2 separate regions of the Homo sapiens genome follow, and region 2 is linked to region 1. Evidence: promoter capture Hi-C in 16 types of primary human blood cells and fetal thymus (Javierre and others, 2016). All regions are on one chromosome and are shown on one strand. Each heading gives the region's core, a stretch centred on a gene start or on the middle of the fragment in contact. The rest is flanking DNA. Distances are from core to core; before and after follow the strand shown. Region 1 holds the start of CFAP298 (cilia and flagella associated protein 298). Region 2 holds the start of TMEM50B (transmembrane protein 50B).

Region 1 (7,000 bases), core at 1,661-4,160:
AGGTCAATTTTTAAACGTAAAGAACTGCTTTCTCACACCTGTAATCCCAGCACTTTGGGAGGCCGAGACCGGCAGATCATCTGAGGTCACGAGTTCGAGACCAGCCTGGCCAACATGGCAAAACCCCGTCTCTACTAAAAATACAAAAATTAGTCAGGTGTGGTGGCACATGCCTGTAGTCCCAGCTACTCAAGAGGCGGAGGCAGGAGAATCGCTTGAACCTGGAAGACAGAGGTGGCAGTGAGCTGAGATTGTGCCACTGCACTCCAGCCTGGGCTAGAGCAAGAATCCGTCTCAAAAAAAAAAAAAGGAACTGTTTTCATACTTATGCCTGTATCAAGCATGCACATAGAAGAGAAATCCTCACTTACCTTGCCCATTCCTTCGTCCAATATCATCCTTTTTAAACACTGCACCTCCGCTGGGTACGCATTTTTCACCCCATTCATCCTTCAATTTCAATTCTTCAATCTGATCATCGGTCAGTCCTTGCATATTAGGAGGGAGAAATATGCCATGTTCGGCTAATTCTTCCATTTCTTAAAAATAAGTGAAAGACAGTATCACAATCATAACACCTCATACCCCATTGGAATGTAAGCTCCAAAGAGTCAGGGGTCTTGCCCATCTGGCTCACTATTTTATGGAACAAACATTTATATGCCACTTGCTATGTGCCAGACCTGGCCTGGGCCTTTGACACGGGGGCATGGTACTGGTCTTATTCATCCTTGTCTTTTTTTTCTTTGAGACAGGGTCTCCCTCTGTCACCCAGGCAGGAGTGCAGTGGCGCGATCTCAGCTCACTGCAGCGATCTCAGCTCACTGCAGCATTGCCTCCCGGGTTCAAGCGATTCTCACGCCTCAGCCTCCCGAGTAGCTGGGACAACAGGCATGTGTCACCACGTTTTGTATTTTTAGTAGAGACTGGGTTTCACCATGTTGCCCAGGCTAGTCTAGAACTCCTAGGCTCAAGTGATCCGCCCGCCTCAGCCTCTCAAAGTGTCAGGATTACCCGTGTGAGCCACCACGCCCGGCCCCATCCTTGTCTTCTGAAGGCTGAGCACTGGTGCAGAATAAATACATGAATTTTCAGTTCACTAATGTGACTCTTAGCATTCAGCACATTTCCAATTTATAACGTTATAGGAAAAGAAGATGAATTCCTTTTCTCCTCAAATGCTTTAACTTAAAAATAACATTTAATATTGAGTTTGTGTTGGAACCTCAATTAAGAAACTACACATAAGTTTCATGAAAAGAACCATGACCCTCAGGAATTTCTCCACGGTGCAAAACTCACATATTCATATAATGTAATCAATACATTTCATAATAAATCACATATTCATGCAATTTAATAAATCACATAAATGAATATACTATTTATTGCAAATAGTTACGTTTGTATATTCTATATATACACGATAGTTATATAAACAGTAATATCCTAGACCACATCAGGAAGTATCATCCCGTCAAGTTCAAAAACTATGCTGTCTAATGCGGCAGCTACTCGCTCCACTTGGCGATTTAAATTTATTTAAATTAAAATGACCCAGACGCGATGGATCACACTTGTAATCCTAGCACTTTGGGAGGCGGAGGCAGGCGGATCACCTGAGGTCAGGCGTTCGAGACCAGCCTGGCCAACATGATGAAACCCCGTGTCCACTAAAGATACAAATATTAGCTGGGCGTGGTGGTGGGCGCCTGTAATCTCAGATACTTGGGAGGCTGAGGCAGGAGAATAGCTTGAACCCGGGAGGCGAAGGTTGCAGTGAGCAGAGATCGCGCCACTGCACTCCAGCCTGGGCAACAGTAAGACCCTGTCTCTCACACACACACATACCATATATATATATATATATATAATTTATTTATATTTATATATACATATATATAATTTATTTATATTCATATATACTATATATATGGTATTTATTTATATTTATATATATTTAATTAATTAAAATGCAAATGTAAAATTCGGTTGCCTGGCCGCACTAGCCACATTCCAAATGCTCTACGGCCACAAGTGGCCGGCAGCTGCCCAATGGACAGCACAGATGGGGGCCCTTCCACCGCCGGAAAGTTCTGCGGCAAAGCGGGTGCCCTGGAACCTGCGCGGGGTAGGGAGACGGCGCCGCAACGCAACAGGCCGTTTCCAGGGCGGGGAAAGATCACCAAGGCTTCCTCAACTGTAAGGGGCCGTCCCAAAGCCAGGTGGCTCGCTGCTTTACATTGGGCGACTAAAAATAGTAAATTCAGCTTTTAAAAGCCCACCTAGTTCTCATCTCACCCCTCACACGTGATTAATTGCACTAAGTCTGCTGTTCAGCCCGGCCTTTCGGCTCCCTCCTCCCTCCCCAGCCCATTTCCACTTATTCGCAGCACCCCAAATCCTGGCTCCGAGAGGCACCTGGGCCCACCTCCCAGCCCGGGGTGTCAGACAGGCCGGATCTTCTCCGGTTCCTTATTCATCTCCGGTTAACCCTAGTGTCCCGTTTCAACCCCGGCTGCTGCAAATCTCTTCAATAATCTTCACAAACCTGACCCCTCGGCCCACCCTGCCCCTCTTTCTCCATCCCACGCCGGTCTCTCGATCTGTCCGGGATGGGCCCACCCGCGAGCCGCACCTGAGCAGAGGCGCTGCACCTTGAGCCGCCCATTATAGACCCGGGCCACCTGCACCGTGAGCTCCTCCAGCTCGGTACTCCCAGGCGCCTGCAGCAGGAACTGGCTCTCGTCGCCCCGCTTCACGTGCAGCAGAACCATGGCGGTCCCGCCGAGGTACTGAGGCGTTGAGAAGGCCCCGGCTGCGTGGCCCGCGGGTCCTGCCGGCCGAGGGTCGCCGGATCGCCAGCAGCTGCGACGCACTAACAGCCGCTCACAGTCCGGAATCCCACGCTCCCTAGCCCGCGGTGAGCGGGGGAAACGGCACTCGCTCCCGGAAGTGGATGTTGCCAAGAGCAACAGTGAAGCAGAGTTAAAGAGCCGCCAGCTCAAGCTCAGAACCCGAGTGGGGGAGGCTGGGGTGCACCGAGGCCCAGCAATCCAAGCCCGTACGGAGCTGCGGCCGGGGAAACCACCCACACAGTCTGAGAGGACAGCTGATTCTGAGCGGACCGACGGAAGGAGATTCGCAGAGCCCCTTCCCGGAAGTGACTGTTGTCGCGGCAACTGCCAAAACACAGACCAAGTCGCTGAAGGGGAGGGCGGACCTCCCAATCGACTGGTCTGGGGCCCGAGATTTCCACTCAGGGAGATACGTGGGCTGAGATGGGAGTTACTAGATGGGGAACGGGAAATACGGCGGGAACCACAATCGCGCAGTTCCGCAGCTGCCGCCCCACAACCGCTCCACATTCCAGCGTCCCTTCCGCCGCTTTCAGTCTCCACTTCCGGCAACGTTTCCACGCTGTTTCCGGCCTGGGAAAGTTCGGCGGCAGCGACCCAGAACTGAGTCTTGCTGTTCGCTGCTGTTTGCGCGGGTCAGCTTTTCAGGACGGAGGGGCCAGGGCGAGTGTCCGCACTTCTTCGTTCAGGTTGATTTGGATGGCGTTGCTGGGGTAGCTCCAGCGGCCCCTGCCAGAGCGACCCTCCCAGAAATATCCAGCCATCCTCCAGCGGACTCTTGCTGAAGGCAGTCGGCGTCAGTCGCTGTTTATTCCGGGCCCCACAGATCCAGAGTCACTGCTCTCATGGAGCTTATATTTTAGTGTGACAAAAAGAAAACAAAAATAAATGGACAGGCCAGGAGCGGTGGCTCACGCGTGTAATCCCAACACTTAGGGAGGCCGAGGAGGGCGGATCACCTGAGGTCAGGAGTTCGAAAGCAGCCTGGCCAACATGGTGAAACCCCTTCTCTACTAAAAATACAAAAATTAGCCGAACGTAGTGGCGCGTGCCAGTAATTCCAGCTACTAGGGAGCCTGAGGTGGGAGAATTGCTTGAACCCGGGAGGCGGAGGTTGCAGTGAGCCTAGATCGCGCCACTACCCTCCAGCCTTGGCGACAGAGTGAGACTGTGTCTCAAAAATAATAAATAAACAAACGGACAACACAAATTCAAATACAGATCTAAAGAAAACTAAACAGGTTGATGGACTTCTTATGTTTGATGGTCAGGGAATGTACACCTTCTGCGATATTGGGAGTAATATTATCGTCTCCCGCCCTGAATATTTAGAAAAATATCACAGTGGGGTGTACACCCCTGCGATATTGAGAGTAATGTCATCCTCTCCACCCAGGAAATTACTAACAAGGTCACGGAGGGGTGTACTCCCCCTGTGATATTGGGAGTAATGTTTTCCTCCCCAAACCTGGATGTTAGCAACAAGATAACAGAGGGGGTGTACACACCCTGCGATATTGGAAGTAATATGATCCTCTCCCCCCCGGATACTGGGAAAAATATCACAGCGCGGGTATACATTTCCTTCGCTGTTGGGAGTAATATCATTCTTTTCCTCTCTGGATATCAGGAACAATATCACAGGGGTGGTGTACATTTCCTTCGATATGGGGAGTAATATCATCCTCTCCCCGTTGGGATACTAGGAACAATATCCCAGGGGGGTGTCCACCCTCTGCGATATTGGGAGTAATATCATCCTCTGTTTCCCCGGATATTAGACACAATATCACAAAAAAGTGTACACCCCCTGCGATATTGGGAGTAATATCATACTCTCCTTCCCTGGATATTAGAAAACAATATCATCAGGGGTGAGCACCCCCTGCGATAATGGAAGTAATATTTTCTCTTTTTTTCTTTTCTTTTTTTTTTTTTTTTTTTTTTAACAGAGTTTCACTCTTGCTGCCCAGGCTGGAGTGTAATGGCATGATCTCGGCTCACTGCAGCCTCTGCCTCCCGTATTCAAGCGATTCTCCTGTTTCAGCCTTCCAAGTAGCTGGGATTACAGGCATGCGCTACCATGCCCGGCAATTTTTTTTTTTTTTTTTTTTTTTTGTATTTTTAGTAGAGACAGTGTTTCTCCATATTGGTCAGGCTGGTCTTGAACTCCCGACCTCAGGTGATCCGCCTGATTCAGCCTCCCAAAGTGCTGAGATTACAGGCGTGAGCGATCGCGCCCAGCCACCACTTAGCATTTTCATTTTACATTTGTTGAAGTTACAGATTTATACACACATTGATTGCTGCTTTATTATACACTTGCATATACATAAAATGGGAAATAGAAAAGAATAAAATGGGCACAATATCCCTAAAGTTTCACATTCCGAAACATTTTTTAAATATTTGCTTTTTAGAAATTTGTTTCAATTAAGAAACTGCGGTATACACACACAATGAAGTATTATTCAGCCTAAAAAGGAATAAAATCCTCTCCGCTGCAGAAAAAATGGATGAGATTGCAGGTCTGTATGTTAAGTGAAATAAGCCAGGCACAGAATGACAAATATTACATGTCCTCACTTATACGTAGGAACAAAAAAGAAAATCTTGGCCAGGTGGCTCAGGCCTGTAATCCCAGCACTTTGGGAGGCCGAGTTGCACGGATTACTTGAGGCCAGGAGTTTGAGAGCTGCCTGGCTAACATGGTGAAACCCCGTCTCTACTAAAAACACAAACAATTAGCCAGGCGTGGTGATGCGTGCCTGTAGTCTCAGCTACTCGGAAGGCTGAGGCCCAAGAAGCGCTTGAACTCGGGAGGTGGAGGTTGCAGTGAGCCTGGACTGTGCCTGTATGCTCCAATCTGGGCAATGGAAAGAGACTCCATCACACACCTACAAACAAAAGGAATCTCAGGAAGGTGGAGAGTATAAAGGGGGTTAGCAGACGCTAGGAAGAAAAGGGGTGGATGGGGAATGAGGAGAAGTGGATAATTGGGTCCCAAAATACAGAAAGATGGAGTAAGTGAGTTCTAGTGTTTGATAGTACAGTATGAAAATTTTAGTTCACAAGAATTTCTTGCATATTTCCAGATGCTTTGGTAAGAAGCTTCCTAACTTTCTCATTATGCTGGTTTTTAAGCTCTTGTCTTCTGCTCTTGAAATCATGCTGGTTTTTTGTTTTTTGTTTTGAGATGGAGTTTTGCTCTTCTTGCCCAGACTGGAGTGTAACAGTGCAATCTTGGCTCACCACAACCTCTGCCTCCTGGGTTCAAGTGATTCTCCTGCCTCCACCTCCTGAGTAGCTGGGATTACAGGCATGCGCCAGCATGCCCAGCTAATGTTGTATTTTTAGTAGAGACGGGGGTTTCTCCCTGTCGGTCAGGCTGGTCTTGATCTCCTGACTTCAGGTGATCCGCCCGCCTTGGCCTCCCAAAGTGCTGGGATTACAGGCGTGAGCGACCACGCCCGGCCCATGCTGTATCCTTATCTGTTGTTTGTTGTGGTTTGTTTGTTTTTGAGCCCAGAAATAACTTCTCACCTATGTGTTCAAATGATTTTTAACATGAGTGCTAAGAAAGCTCATTGGTGGAAAAGCAGCCTTTTCAAGAAATGGTGTTGGAGAAACTTGATTTCCACATGCAGAAGAATGAAGGTGGACCCTATGTCACACCAGGTGCAAAAATTAACACAAACTGGATCAAAGACCTAACCCCAAGTGCTAAAAGTATAATATGCCTCAAAGAAAACATTGGCCACACTTTCATGACATCAGATTGGGCAATGCTTTCTGGGATATGACACCAAAAGCATAGGCAACGAAAGAAAATTAGATTCCTTGGATTACATCTAAATGACAGACACTTTTGTGCATCAAAAAACACTGTGAACTGAGTGAAAAGATAACCCATGGATTCGGAAAAATATTTGCAAATCATATATCTGAAAAGAGGCTGATATCCATCATGTATAAAGAACAGCTAGAACTAAGCAACAAGAAACCCAAAGCATCCCATTGACAATGGTCAGAAGACTCGAGTAGACGTGTCCCTAAAGAAGATACAGCAATGGCCAATAAGCATCTAAGATGATGTTCAAAATCACTCATCATAGGGAAGCGCAAATCAAACCAATAATGTG
Region 2 (7,000 bases), core at 2,180-4,679, 870 kb after region 1:
AGGTCAGGAGATTGAGACCATCCTGGCTAAAACGATGAAACCCCGTCTCTACTAAAAACACAAAAAATTAGCTGGGCGTGGTGGAGGGTGCCTGTAGTCCCAGCTTCTCGGGAGGCTGAGGCAGGAGAATGGTGTGAACCCGGGAGGTGGAGCTTGCAGTGAGCCGAGATCGCACCACTGCACTCCAGCCTGGGCGACAGAGTGAGACTCCATCTCAAAAAAAAAAAAAAAAAAACAACTTTAAGTTTAAAAAGATTCCTTGTGAAATAAAATTATATCAAAGTACAATCATCTGTTTATATTATCTACTTGAAACTTACCCTAGAACGACAAAAAGATTTTCATAAAGCAAAGCTTTTAATGGCTAAAACCCAGAAACAGTCAAAATGTCCATCAATAAGGAACCAAAAAATGTATATTAGGGTACATCCAAACAACGGTATACCATGCAACATTCTGAAAATGAGGCAAGTTGGCTGGGCAGGATGGCTCACACCTGTAATCCCAGCACTTTGAGAGGCTGAGGCAGGTGGATGGCTTGAGTTCAGGAATTCAAGACCAGCCTGGGCAATATGAGAAACCCGTCTCTACAAAAATTACAAAAATTAGGCATGGTGGCACTCGCCTATAGTCTCAGCTTCTCAGGAGGCTGAGGTGGGAGGATCGTTTGAGCCCAAGGCTGCAGCAAGCCGTGAGGGAACCACTGCACTCCAGCCTGGGCAACACAGTGAGACCCGGTCTCCAAAGTGAGGGGTGGGGTTGGGAGGAAATGAGGTAGGTCTCCACGTGCTTATGAAGGAAATGTGTCCTTATATTATCATCAGTTGCCGAGCAATATTATAATATAATACCCTCCTAGGGAATGGAATTGAGGATGTAAAGAGTGAACAAACAAGGAATTCTAACTTGACATACCTCTGCGCTGTCTGAATTTTACTTGATATTCTTCTGTCATGTTTAAATGTTTTAAACAACCTGAATGTTACTTTAATCATTTAAAAAGTAAAACGGGCTAGGTACGGTGGCTCACGTCTGTAATCCCAGCACTTTGGGAGGCCGAGGCGGGGGGGGGTTACCTGAGGTCAGGAGTTCGAGTCTCTACTAAAAATACAAAAATTAGCTGGGCGTGGCGGCGGGCGCCTGTAATCCCAGTTTACTTGGGAGGCTGAGACAGGAGAATCGTTTAAACCTGGGAGGCGGAGGTTGCAGTGAGCCACGATAGCGCCATTGCACTCCAGCCTGGGCAACAAGAGCAAAACTCGGCCTCAAAAATTATATATATATATACATAAGTTAAAAATAAACTTTAGGCCGGGCACAGTGGCTCACGCCTGTAATCCCAGCACTTTGGGAGGCTGAGGCAGGTGGATCACGAGGTCAGGAGATCGAGACCATCCTGGCTAACACGGTGAAAACCCGTCTTTACTAAAAATACAAAAAATTAGCCGGGCGTGGTGGTGGGCGCCTGTAGTCCCAACTACTAGGGAGGCTGAGGCAGGAGAATGGCGTGAACCCAGGACGTGGAGCTTGCAGTGAGCCGAGATCTTGCCACTGCACTCCAGCCTGGGAGACAGAGCAAGACTCTGTCTCAAAAAATAAATAAATAAATAAATTTAAAAATAATAATAATACACTTTAAAAGGCCAGGCGCGGTGCCCACACCTGTAATCCCAGTACTTTCAGAGACCGAGGCAAGCGGATCACTTGAGGTCAGGAGTTCAAGACCAGCCTGGCCAACATGGTGAAACTCTCTCTCTACTAAGAATATAAAAATTAGCCAGGCATGGTGGCAGGCGCCTGTGATCCCAGCTACTCGGGAGGCTGAGGCTGTAAAATCCCTTTAACCCTAGAGGTGCAGGCTGCAGTGAGCAGAGATCGGGCCACTGTACTTGTAGCCTGGTCAACGAGGGAGACTCTGTCTCAAAAAAAACAGAAAAGGAAAATGAGGATAAAATACGATAAATTCTTTACCTTGGCCCCCAGAAGTGAATTCAGAATTCAGAAAAGACTAGCCAGTGTAAGGCTGCTGTAACCCTAGTTGACAGAGAGGAGGGATTGGGGTGGTGAGTGGGAAGGCTGTGTCTCCGGAAGAAGAAATATACGTCCCCACCTCACTCTAATTAAACCTGCTTTTCCAGCGCGATAAATATTCAAGATAACTTTTGGTTTGCATTTCAATAACAAAGTCTTGCACCACTATCTTCAGTTTAAAAAAAAAGTTTAATGTTTGCTCTACGTTTGAAATGCATGCAGGTTTAAAAGACAAGAAACAAAATGATGAAAAAGTGTGACCGGCCTGAGAGTTCAGAGCCTCTGAAGTGTCAAGGGATCCACAGTGCAGGTAGGATGAAGAGTCTGAGAAGGGAGATGGGATCCTCCGAAAAGAGAAAATCGGGTCTTACAGCGCGATGTAAGACGATGCGGATGCCACTTCCCTCCCACCCCGTCCCGTCCGAGGCCTCCGCCCCCTGCCCCTCCGCACCCCCCGACCCAGGCACGCGCAGCGGGGAGCAGCCCAGCCTAGCCCGTCTCACTGCTTTGGTTTTGAAAGGTCACGTATTTACCTTAGAATTTCAGCACCTTCCAACTTACTGTTTTAAGTACCTTTAACCAGCCTATTGGCTAAAAACCGAAACGGTCCTACCCGCGACTACCACTGCTCCAGTGACAATGCTCTGCTGCTACTTATTTAACGGAGCTCAAGGTTTATAATTCTCGAAAGAATGTTGTTCCCCTTCCCTTTCCCCTCCCGCCTCTGTACTTGACTCTCGTAAGAATGAAATCAGAAAAGTGCAGAAAACACAGGCTCCTAGCAATGGTTCGGGGCAAACGGGAGGGGCGAAGAAGGGCTGGAGCCGCCCCGGGGCCCTCGCTCCGGCCTCGGGAGGGCGTCGCGGCCGCAGCAGGGCGTCCCGAAAACCGTCGCCTCCGTGCCCGCCGCGCGAGAAGGTGAAAGGCACGAGATGGAGCCTCTCCAGCCCTCCCCAGGAACGCAACCTGACGGCGTGACAGCGCGGCAGGGCAGCCTCCCCGGGCTGCTTGCGGGTCGCGGCGGCGCCACGGTCACGGTCGGCCCGAAGGGACGCGGGCAGGGGCAAGAAGGGGCGGCGGGGGCTCCGCGGGCCCGAGTCTGCAGGCCGGCGCCGAACGCAGGGAAAACCCGGCTGGACGGCCCCACAGCCCCCAGAAGGCCGGGCCGGACAGGGCCCGACGAGGGAGCCTCCTTACGCGCGGGCGGCGGGCGCGAGCCCTCTACGGTTGCCTGGCGCCGGAGACCCACAGACAGGACTCACCCAGCTTCCTCAAACGCCCACGCCGACTTCAGGCGCGCGCGCAGGAAGGAGACTGCTGCGCCACAACCCTGCCGGCGTCCCGCGGCTCCACCTCAGCCCCGGGAGCCCGGAGCTGGGAGCAGACGCGAGGATAGAGCGCCGGTGAGGCGGGGCGAGGCGCCGTGTGCACCGCAGCGACCAATCGGAGCGCAGCAAGTGGCCGGCCGGGGGCGGGGCGGGACGCGAGGGGGCGGGGAGAGGGCGTTGGCTGGGCGCAGCGGGACGCCGGGCGCTCCTCGCGACCAATCGGCGTGCAGCAAGTGGCCGGCCGGGGGCAGGGCGAGCTCCGAGGGACGGGGTGGGCTGCTCTGCAGGCCTCCCGGAGCCGGAGTTCAGACCCAGCTATCTACGGTTCCGGGCAGAGCGGGACGGGCCTCTCCTGTCCCCTGCCGGTGGGCGGCCGCCGCCGGGCTCCCACTGCTGCGTTTCTGCACGCTGACTTGAAGTGCAGTACCGTGAGATTACGTGCGGACGGAGCTCGAGACCCGGGGGACCAGGGTTTCCCTTCGCCTATGGCCGATCAGTCTTGTCTGTCTGCGAGCTGCCCAGAGTAGGGAAGGTGCTCCGGGAGGGTTCTCGGGAACGGAGGGTCTTTAGAGATGCCTTTTTCTAATCCCCTCAATTCAGAAATGGAGCCCCAGAAAGTTGAAGTTAGTAAACCAGGGCTACCCAGCGAGTGCTGGTTACCCGAGGTGATCCTCACAATACAACTAGTCTTCTGATTTCGCTCGGCGCTCTCCCGTCTATTCACGTAGATTTTTGTCTTTTTTTTTTTTTTTCGTCTTTCTTATAGTCAGATATCTTTCAGCCTCTTGGATTTTCAACATAACTTTAACAGCGTTTGGAAGCCCCGTCTAAATTTCCTACAGAAATGCCTATAACCATTTAGTTGTTTGGGGGAAAGTCGAGCTTTGTTTTTTGGGTGGTTTGTTTGTTTGTTTTGAGACAGGGTCTTGCTCTGTTGTCCAGGGTGGAGTGCAGTGGTGTGATCTTGGCTCACTGCAGCCTCTTACCTCCCACGCTCAATCAATCCTCCCACCTCAGCCTTCCGAGTAGCTGGGATTACAGGTGCGCACCACCATGCTTGGCTAATTTGTGTATTTTTAGTAGAGACGGGATTTCACCTGGCTGATCCTGAACTCCTGACCTCAGGTGATCCACCCGCCTCTGCCTCCCAAAATGCTGGGATTACAAGCGTGGGCCACTGTGCCCAGCCAAGTAGAGTTATTATCAGTGGAAATCTAAAAAGCATTTTACTTGAGGCATAATGAAGTAAAAGGTTTTGTATCATGGAATTATCACCAAAAATGCCATCCTGGATAATGTTCTCCTATAGCTCTTATACATGGGCTAGGATCTAGGTGTTCAATAAATATGTGCTGAATAATTTACTTTTGAAATATGTCACAATGCTGGCATTCCACCAGAAGAGAGGATACAGAAGGGAACACTCTCCTCTCTTTAAGAACCTTTTGAAAGGGGCGGGGGTTGCATGTACCATTTTTGTTTTCATTCTGCTAGTAAAATAGTCACTTGACTACACCAAATTGCAAAGAAGGCTGGAAAATGGGGTTTCAGTACTAAGGAAGGAAAACTAGATATTAGGGGACAATTAGAAGTTTCCAAATCTCATCACTTTTTTTGGGGGGGTGGGGGAGGCATCCCAAAGGGCAGACTGGTTTATTAGGCAGCAGCCAGGAAAATCAGCGGTTGGACTTGTCCCCACACTCCAGCTCATCCTTCTTGTTGATGGCATAGGAGCTGGAGGAGGCCTTGGTGGCATTGATGAGCTCATCCGCCAGGCACTCAGCAATGGTCTTGATGTTCCAGAAGGCAGCCTCACGAGTGCCTGTGCACAGCAGCCAGACGACCTGATTCACACAGTGCAGTGGGGACATGTCCACAGCCTGTTGTCTCACAGTCCCTGCTCGCCCAATGCATGTGGAGTCCTCCCAGGGACCACTGTTGATGATGGCGTTCACCAGGACCTGGAGAGGGTTCTCGCCTGTGAGCAGGTGGATGAAATCGAAGGCATGCTTGATGATGCACATGATCATGAGCTTGTTGCTGTTGTTGCAGCCGTGCATCATCATGGAGTTAGTGAGGGGCTCCACAATGGGGCACTGAGCTTTGCGGAAGCATTTGGCTGCATACCACCCAGCACTGTGAGGCAGGTACTTGGCATACTTCTCCTTCACTGCAGTGTAATCCTGCAGGGAAATGCCATTGATCTGCATATCATCAGTGCTCCACTTCCCAGAGAGCTTGATGTCAAGGGGTCTCTGCCACTGCTGGTGCTGCTGTCTCCCACTCGGTCATCCTGAGGGCACAGCCTGAGTGTCTCTGTCGATCAGCATGGACCACATGCTGCCCTGGCACAGACAGGCCATTGCTTTTTAAAGTACTAATATTTTAAGGTTTCCCAGGATTTTTTTAAGCTTTGTTACAGAATAATATCTGTAGAAAAATGATTACCTCCATATATGAAGGAAGACATTACTGTTCACCTACCGTTGGGATGCACATGCTTTAAGTTGCTTTTTTAGTAGTGGAGACTTATGTTAATGCAGCTTGTCTGAAGTCCTTTTCTACTGCTATAACAGAATAACACAGAACAGGCAATTTATAAACAATAGTGTTTTATTTGGTCCACAGTTCTGGAAGCCGGGAACTCCAAGAGCATGGTGCTGGCATCTTGTAAGGATTTTCATGCTGTGTCATCCCATGGTAGAAAACAAGACAGACAGGGGCCAACGAGCATACAAGACAGAAGGAGAAAATCAGGCTGACGCTATCCTTTTACCAAGAGCCCAATCCCAAGATAACTAACCCACTCCCACAATAACAGCATTAATCCATTCGTGAGGGTGGAGCCCTCATGACCCAATCACATCTTCAAGGTTCTACCTCTCAACACGATTACAATAGTAATTAAGTTTCAAACACATGAACTTTTTGGGGACACATTCAAACCATAGCACAATTTGCTTCTCTCAGTCTATAAACCTCTATTCCACAAAGAGTCAAACATGTATTTAGTTATGCTTTCAAAAATATGGGCATTTGGCCGAGCACAGTGCCTCACACCTGTAATCCCAGCACTTTGGGAACCAGAGGCGGTTGGATCACCTGAGGTCAGGAGTTCCAGATCAGCCTGGTCAACATGGTAAAATTCCGTCTCAACTAAAAAGAAAAAACAATTAGCTGGGCATGGTGATACATGCCTGTAATCCCAACTACTCAGGAGGCTGAGGCAGGAGAATCACTTGAATCCGAGAGGCAGAGGTTGCAGTGAGCCAAGATCACGCCACTGCACTCCAGCCTGGGCGACAGAACAAGACTCCGTCTCAAAAAAAAAAAAAAAAAAGGCATTTGAAAGATACGGGGATTAAGTTGCTGATGTCAACATTTCGCTGTCAATTCCAAATGTACTGATTTAAGTATTTAGTAGAATTGTAAATCAGCCTTTAAAAAAAAAAACCACACATGGCCGGGTGCGGTGGCTCAAGCCTGTAATCCCAGCACTTTGGGAGGCCGAGGCGGACAGACCATGAGGTCAGGCATTCGAGACCAGCCTGGCAAACATGGTGAAACCCCGTCTCTACTAAAAATACAAAAATTAGCCAGGCATGGTGGCGCTCACCTGTAATCGCAGCTACTCAAGAGGC

Evidence for each region. Contacts are between HindIII fragments. The CHiCAGO score rates a contact against its expected background, and 5 or more counts as called.
Region 2: the fragment with the promoter of TMEM50B here is called in contact with the fragment with the promoter of CFAP298 in region 1 in 2 of 17 cell types (naive CD8 T cells and fetal thymus); the score reaches 6.3 in naive CD8 T cells.

Annotation. Positions count from the first base shown.
Region 1 is chr21:32,609,467-32,616,466 of GRCh38, forward strand. It overlaps CFAP298 (cilia and flagella associated protein 298), which reads right to left and starts at 2,911. Exons shown (of 7, transcript NM_021254.4): 1 at 2,639-2,911; 2 at 372-539. The coding sequence starts at 2,777. It overlaps CFAP298-TCP10L (CFAP298-TCP10L readthrough), which reads right to left and starts at 2,911. Exons shown (of 12, transcript NR_146639.2): 1 at 2,639-2,911; 2 at 372-539. RefSeq lists enhancers at 2,333-2,382, 3,043-3,152. The HindIII fragment of the contact is 6,059 bases long and covers 1-5,967 here.
Region 2 is chr21:33,476,545-33,483,544 of GRCh38, forward strand. TMEM50B (transmembrane protein 50B) reads right to left here and starts at 3,430. Exons shown (of 7, transcript NM_006134.7): 1 at 3,294-3,430. It also overlaps the pseudogene RPS5P3. The HindIII fragment of the contact is 5,416 bases long and covers 353-5,768 here.